2 separate regions of the Homo sapiens genome follow, and region 2 is linked to region 1. Evidence: promoter capture Hi-C in human tissues and cell types (Jung and others, 2019). All regions are on one chromosome and are shown on one strand. Each heading gives the region's core, a stretch centred on a gene start or on the middle of the fragment in contact. The rest is flanking DNA. Distances are from core to core; before and after follow the strand shown. Region 1 holds the start of DNAJB13 (DnaJ heat shock protein family (Hsp40) member B13). Region 2 holds the start of KCNE3 (potassium voltage-gated channel subfamily E regulatory subunit 3).

What was found. Contacts are between HindIII fragments. The study calls those that stand out against the background at their distance.
Region 2: a contact is called between the fragment with the promoter of KCNE3 here and the fragment with the promoter of DNAJB13 in region 1, in 1 of the 25 tissues and cell types used here (dorsolateral prefrontal cortex).

What each region holds. Positions count from the first base shown.
Region 1 is chr11:73,948,674-73,952,312 of GRCh38, reverse strand. DNAJB13 (DnaJ heat shock protein family (Hsp40) member B13) reads right to left here and starts at 1,287. Exons shown (of 8, transcript NM_153614.4): 1 at 1,176-1,287. The coding sequence starts at 1,243. The HindIII fragment of the contact is 16,389 bases long and covers 1-3,639 here.
Region 2 is chr11:74,466,187-74,470,039 of GRCh38, reverse strand. It overlaps KCNE3 (potassium voltage-gated channel subfamily E regulatory subunit 3), which reads left to right and starts at 2,491. Exons shown (of 3, transcript NM_005472.5): 1 at 2,491-2,642. The HindIII fragment of the contact is 14,037 bases long and covers 1-3,853 here.

The DNA of each region.
Region 1 (3,639 bases), core at 38-2,537:
AGTTATCCTGGACTCCTCTTTTCTTCACCCTCCAGTGATCCACTTAATTACCAAGTCCATTCCCTCCCCTTTCTCTGGCCTCATCTTTTGCCTTGATTACCACGAACAGCCTCCTAAAGGGTCTCTCTCCTTCCAAGATAACTTCCACAGCCCCCCATACTTCCTCTTCTGTAACACTCATCACAGTTGTGGTGACTTATTCAACATCTATTCAGCAACAAAATCTAGCTGCATGAGGTAAGGGAGTGTCGATGTCGGATTCCGACATTTATCTCCAGCTGCTACCACTGCAGCAGGAGTGAAGTACCCTCTCAACCCTTGTGGTAGACGCTCAATAAATATTTGTTAAAAAAAAAAACATGTTTTTGGCCAGGTGCGGTGACTCACACCTATAATCCCAGCACTTGGGAAGGCTGAGGCGGGTGGATCACCAGAGGTCGGGAATTTGAGACCAGCCTGACCAAAAAGGAGAAACCCCATCTCTACTAAAAATACAAAATTAGCTGGGCATGGTGGTGCATGCCTGTAATCCCAGCTACTTGGGAAGCTGAGGCAGAAGAATCGCTTGAACCCAGGAGGTGGAGGTTGCGGTGAGCCGAGATCACGCCATTGCACTCCAGCCTGGGCAACAAGACCAAGACTCCGTCTCAAAACAAAAAACAAAAACATGTTTTCAGAAAAATGTACTGACTCCTGTTGTAGGCTTTCTTAGGAACGAGCCAGAACGTCCTTAAGATCCGATGGAAGTATTCAGGAATGTAGTTTAGTCAATGCTGAAAACCTCCATCATGGCCAGAATTGAATTTAAAACATCCATCTGGCCTGGCCACTCCCTTGTTCACAAGCCTCTGGTTCTCCATAATATTCAAGATAAAGTTCAAATGGCTCCTTTGTCCCCACTTCATTGCTGGGAAAAGCAAGGCACCCAGGAGAGGATATAGGGCATGGAGCATAAAGGGAGATGGGTTGGGAGCAGATTGAGGAACTAAAGAGTTCAAATTTCCAACCTGGGCCCTGACCCAGACCAAAGCCAGGATACAGGTATGCAAGAAGTGAAAGGAGGAACAAGGTTTACCTTGTCTGCGCTAAGCTGTGCAGGAAAGCTCGTTTTGGAAGAGAAGAGGGCAGGGCCTGCCCCAGCACACCCCTAAGGCCTGGCTCCCACCCCAACTTACGCCTGCTTGATCTGGGCATCCTCTGAATTGCGAGTGATCCCGAGCACAGAGTAATAATCCTGGCCCATGGCTGGCTAGCTGGCAGTCAGGCCCTGGATAGTCCTCAGACTCTAGCAAGGCTGTTAGTTGGCTTCCTTGGTTGCTCCTGACAACCGCACAGGTGCACTCTGGGAGTTGTAGTCCCACTTCCCTAAACAAATTTCAGCTCTGCCACAGAGAGGAGTCAGTGAAAGGACTGGGGGAGAGCTGGGGCTGATTCTGCGACCCTGTGAAAGGTCACTCAACTCGGAAATTGAAGACTCACAGGGCTCTGTTTTATTTTGTTTTTGTTTTTAAAGAGAGCAGTAATTAGTTTTAATAAAAAGGTTTTAGAAGAAATGCATTTGGCTAATTTTTTAAAAATACATTTATTTTAGAACAGTTTTAGAGTTTAGAAAAGTTGAGAAGACAGTACAGAGAGTTCCCATATACCTCACATCCACATTCTCCTATTTTATTATTATTATTATCATTATCATGTTTTTGAGACAGGGTCTTCACTCTGTCACCCAGGCTGGTGGGCAGTGGCAGGATCACACCTCACTGCAGTCTCAACCTCCCAGGCTCAAGGGATTCTTCCACCTCAGCCTTCCAAGTAGCTGAGACACAGGCGTGCACTACCATGCCTGGCTAATTTTTGTATGTTTTGTAGAGATGGGGTTTCACCATGTTGCCCAGACTGGTCTTGAACTCTTGGGCTCGGCTTGGCCTCCCAAAGTGCTGGGATTACAGGTGTGAGCCACTGCATTCACATTCCCCTATTATTAACATCTTACATTAGTATGGTACATTTGTCACAAATAATGACCAATATTGATACATTATTATTAACTAAAATCCACATTTTATTCAGATTTACTAGTTGTTTTAACCTAATATCTTATTTCTGTTCCGGACCCCATCCAGGATGCCACGTTACACTTAGCTGTTGCATCTCCTCTGGTGCCTCCTGACTGTGACAGTTTCTCAGACTTTCCATGTTTTTGATGACCTTGACAGTTTAAGTAATAATGGTCAGGTGTTTTGTAGAATGTCCTGCAATTGGAATTTGTTTGGTGTTTTTCTTTTTGTTTGTTTGTTTTTGTTTTTTGAGATGGAGTCTCACTCCATCGCCCAGGCTGGAGTGCAGTGGCACAATTTCAGCTCACTGCAACCTCTGCCTCCCGGGTTCCAGCGATTCTCCTGCCTCAGCCTCCCAAGTAGCTGAGATTACAGGCATGTGCCACCATGCCCGGCTAATTTTTGTTATTTTTACTAGAGACGGGGTTTCACCATGTTGGCCAGGCTGGTCTCAAACTCCTGACCTCAAGTGATCCACCCACCTCAGCCTCCCAAAGTGTTGGGATTACAGGCGTGAGCCACCGCGCCAGCCCTCCTTCCCCACTTGCTGTATTGCACTCTTTGGAAGGCAGTCACTGTGCGGCCCACCCTTACAGTGAGGGAGTTATGCTCCACCTCTCTGAGTACAGCAGAGCCCTGTTTTCCATGCACATCCCAAATCCAACTGGTCACCAAGCTCAGTCCATTCTGCTTCCTAGACAACCTCTCAAGCCCAGCTCCTCTGCTCTTCCTCCTCATAATCAGGGCCCAGCTCTGGATTCATCTTTCAGCAAGACCACAACAACTTCCTCGCGGGCCTGCCTGCCTTGTCTCTGTTCTGCAAAGCCCACACTCCTCATTACTTCGAGTGAACTCCAAACTGCTTACCATGGCACACAGGCCCTCTGTGATCTGGTGCCTCCCTTTCCACCTGAGCTCTCACCACTGCCCTACACGCACCCACTGCTTGTCAGAATGGACTGCAGTGCCTGCCACTGCCCAAACCAGCCATCCCCTCTCCTCATTCACCTCTGCTGCTACCTCTGCTCAGAACCTCCCACCCCACCCACCACAGACCCTCGCCTCAACCCAGCTAACTTCTATTTGTTTTTTCTTCTTAGGAAGAAAAAGAGCAGCATTAGAACATTCCTTGTTGAAGGAATATTGCCCCGATGTGCCCCTCCCTACCTGTTTGTAATTCTCTTGCTTTTCTTTAGAGCTTTACTCCATATGCCTGTACCCAGTGGTGTGCTGTTTTGTGGCATTTGCCAGTTCTTCCCAAGCCAGTACAAGCCAGCTCCAGTGCCACACTGCAAATATCCACAGCAACATATTTACCTTTTCATATTTTTGAACTTTATATAAATGGTATCATTTATACAAATGGTAGGTATTTGTGTGTGTGACTTATTGTCACAGGCTGTATAGTACTCTCTGTTGATGAACATTTGGGTATATGCGCCCACTTTGCAAGGCAATGCCAAAGTTTTCTGGTGTGGTTTTCTAATTTACGCTGGCAACAGCAGTGTATCAGTTTCTTTTGCTTCATATCCTTACCAACTCTTTTTTTTTTTTAAGACAGGGTCTCCCTCTATTGCCCAGGCTG
Region 2 (3,853 bases), core at 1,242-3,741, 520 kb before region 1:
TGAGCTCAAGTGATCCACCCACCTCAGCCTCCCAAAGTGTTGGGATTACAGGCATGAGCCACTGCTCCTGGCCGACCTTAAATTCTTGAAAGACTGTAAAAGGGAACACAGATCAGACTTCTATTTCATGTCTCCAATGGGTGCAAGGACCAAAGGGTAGAAGTCAACAGGAAGCAGTTTTTGTTAAAATGTGAGAACATCCTAACAATCAGAGCTGTCTGGCTGCCTTGCAGGCATTGAGCTCCCTAGAGGTGTGCAAGAGAAGCTGGATAGCCTCATTTCAAAAATGAAATAGAGGCAGAGTGTGGTGGCTCACACCTGTAATCCCAACACTTCGGGAGGCCAAGGCGGGCAGATTACTTGAGGTCAAGTGTTCGAGACCAGCCTGGCTAACATGGCAAAACCCCGTCTCTACTAAAAATACAAAAATTAGCTGGGTGTGGTGGTACACCTGTAATTCCAGCTACTCAGGAGGCTGAGGCACAAGAATTGTTTGAACCTGGGAGGCAGAGTTTGCAGTAAGCTGAGATCACACCACTGCACTCCAGCCTGGGTGATATGTTTCCAAAAATAAAGAAATGGGAGAATCTGTTAGGCTCATGAGGGATTTGACTAGGAAACTCTTGAGAGTTCTTCCAATTTACATTCCAGAACCCTAAGATGATATGATTCTAAGACTTTGGTTCTAAGATTTTATTAGAACAAAAGACAATCCCTATCTTCAAAGAACTCACAACCTAGCAGATGGGGTGGACAAATGGTTACTTTCTATAACTGTCATAGACAGTCCTACAGAGTAAATGCAAGGCCGTGGGCAGGATCTGAGAAAGAACCCTGACCAAGCCAGGACTGCTTCCTCATGGCTAGTCTCAAGAACCATTTGCATCAGAGTCATTTGGAAATCTTGTTTGAAAATGCTGATTTCTAGGCTCTACTCCAGATTTCCTGAATTAGAACCTCTGGAGTGGAGCCCAAAAGTCTACTTAGTAAAACAAGCTCCCCAGGGGATTCTTAGGCAGATTGAAAACTGAGGTTGCAGGATGGGCACAGTGGTTCATGCCTGTAATCCCAGAACTTTGGGAGGTGGAGGTGTGCAGGTCACTTGAGCCCAGGAGTTCGAGATCAGCCTGGGCAACATGGAGTAACCCAATTTCTATAAAATACAAAAATTAGCCAGACATAGTGGTGTGTCCCAGTTACTCAGGAGGTTAAGGGAGGAGGATCACCTGAGCCCAGGAGTTCAAGGCTGCTGTGAGCCATAATCACTCCACTGCACTCCAGCCTGGGTGACACAGTGAGATCCTGTCTAAAGGAAGGAAGGAAGGAAGGAAGGAAGGAAGGAAGGAAGAAAGAAAGGAAGGAAGGAAGGAAACTGAGATTGCATGCTTAGGTGATTAGGATGACTTTTCTGAGAGGTGATCTCCAGACTGAGAAAAAGGAATAGTAGGGTCAAAACAAGGTGGGTACAATATACCCACCTTGTATATTGTATACAATATACAATATACCCACCTTGTAGTAGGTCTTTTTAAAACGATAGCACTTCTTAGATATATTCTGGGATTCTGTAATTGAGAGTATGTGCTTCAGATATCCTGGAGCAGACCTTTGCAAGGGAGTGAAAGAGCTGGCCTGAGGCTGTTATTAATTATTCTGAGGCAGTGAGCTGGTAAAAGGGCACCCCACAGGGTCCCCCGGAGAAATTCTCTGCAACTGTCCCTTCCTCTGCCACTAGCCTCCTGGCTCTTATTCCTCAGCTGCCCCGGCTGCCCCAGTTCTCTGAAGCCTGCAATGTCACCAGCAAGGAAACAACAGTTTGAGTGAGGGCATGGTGGTGGGAAAATAAACTGTTCTGGGACAGAGATGAGTAAGGTGCGGCTGAACACAAGTTGGTCAGGCACTGTCACGAACTTTTGAGGCTTGGTGGAGGAAACATTTGCTGGTGCTACTCAGAGACAGAGGGGTGTGTAGTGGATTTTGGGTCTGGGCTCTGCTACCTGGGCAAATCCCTTCTCCAACTGGGCCTCTGCGTCCTGTGTGGAAAAGAGTTTGTGTAAGAATCATATTATTTTGCTGTTGACCCTTTGGTTTTAATACTTTGGACTCAAAGGTCTCATCTGACCTCAACCATAAGCCTGTGAAGAATGCATGGAGGAACTGTACCAACTTTACAGCCAGGCCAAGGCCCAGTGAGGGGCAGCGACTCGCCCACCACCACACAGCCACACTGGAGCAAAACCGACTCCTGGAGATCGGCCTCATGCTGGGCTTGCTGAGGCCCAGCGGAGCGAGAGGCTTTCGGTCTCTGGTCCAGGAAGCAGGCGCTGCAGGGGACGGAAGGGTCGGAGCCCACAGCCGGGGGAGGCCAAGGAGCTGGGCGGAGGCACTCCAGGCCAGCCCGGGGAGAAGTGGGTGTGCTGGGGCCCGGGCGGGGCAGGGGGAGGGGACGCCCGGGGGAGGGAAAAGGGAGCCGAGCGCGGGTGGGAGCCCAGAGCCAGAGAGCGCGCTGGGCGGTGCTGGGCACCCGCGGAGTGGAACGGGGCTGGTGGAATGCACAGGGTCGCAGCGCTTGGGCCACCCTCGGTCAGAGGGCGCCGTGTCCAGCGAGCAAACGGGCGCCCCGGAGCCTTGCTGAGAGGCAGGTAAGGCACCCACCCAGCTGGGAAGGCTGAGCTGCGGCCTGGGGTGGAAATGAGGGGTCTTCCCGCCTCCCTTCCAAGGGCCACGGCGCGCTCTCCGTGAGACTGTGGAACCGAGGGGGAGTGGGGGAGGGGTGGGCGCTGCAAATACCAAGCTAGTCCTCCCGGATCCTCCCCGATCCTCCCGAGCGCAGTGATCGTGGAGCAGCATGTGGGAGTAGGGAGCTGGGCTCTGCGCGCCCCGTCTGGAAACCGTGGGGACTTGCGCCGTTATTCCCAGCCCTCAAGACGGCCACAAGAAAAGTTCCTCCACACCCACAGACGTGCAAGCGAACACTTGCAGCTGGCAGCCAGTGCACACGCAGAAACGACATTTCAGGACCCAGCACAGTCTCATTTGGCTGGAGCCACCGGCTCTGCGGAGCTGACTTGCCCATTCCCTCTACACCTCACTGTGTCCTTCACCCTGTCTGACCTAGTCCCGGGAAACCTGGTGACTCCCAAAAGCATCTTCTGCTGCCAGTAACATAGGTCGAGGCTGGGAGTCGGGAGACTTGAGTTCTAGTTTACAGGCTGTGTAAACCCGGGCAGTCATCCCTCAGCTCTGCGCCTTGTGCTCGCTTTTCCTGGGCCACCATTTGTAAAACGGGCCTCCTGCTCCTGTTGCCTGCATACCCCATGGGACAGAAGGGGAAAGGGGGATTGGACCTCAGAGTCTCTTATCTCGAAAATAAATGAGTTTAGTTCTTGCGTGAAAGCCCACCAGAGTATCCCTCCTAAAATCCTCTCCACTAATTTGCATATAGGGAAACTGATGCCCCAGGGGAGATGATTTACCTAAGGTTACAACAGAGACCAAACAGAATTAGAACCCAAGTTTCCTCAGTCCTAGCCCAGGGCTCTCTCCACTTCACCTACAAAGGCATGTTGTAAACGTGTGAGCTCCTCCTTATTTCCTTGCATCCGTCCACTTTGTCTGTTCCTGATGGAGGAAGACCCATGCTGGGGGCCTAGAAGCTGCTTTCAGATTTTCTTGACTCCTTGAGATGATAACCATCACCTTCTCCATCCCTCACTCAGTCTATACGTCTCAAAGCACATCCATAAACTTAATGTGCGAGTGCTCAAAATACCTTCTAAGAGGGAAGCAAGACAAGAAACTCCATCTTACTGATGAGGAAAATGAGGCCTAGAGGGATATAGACTTAGAGTGA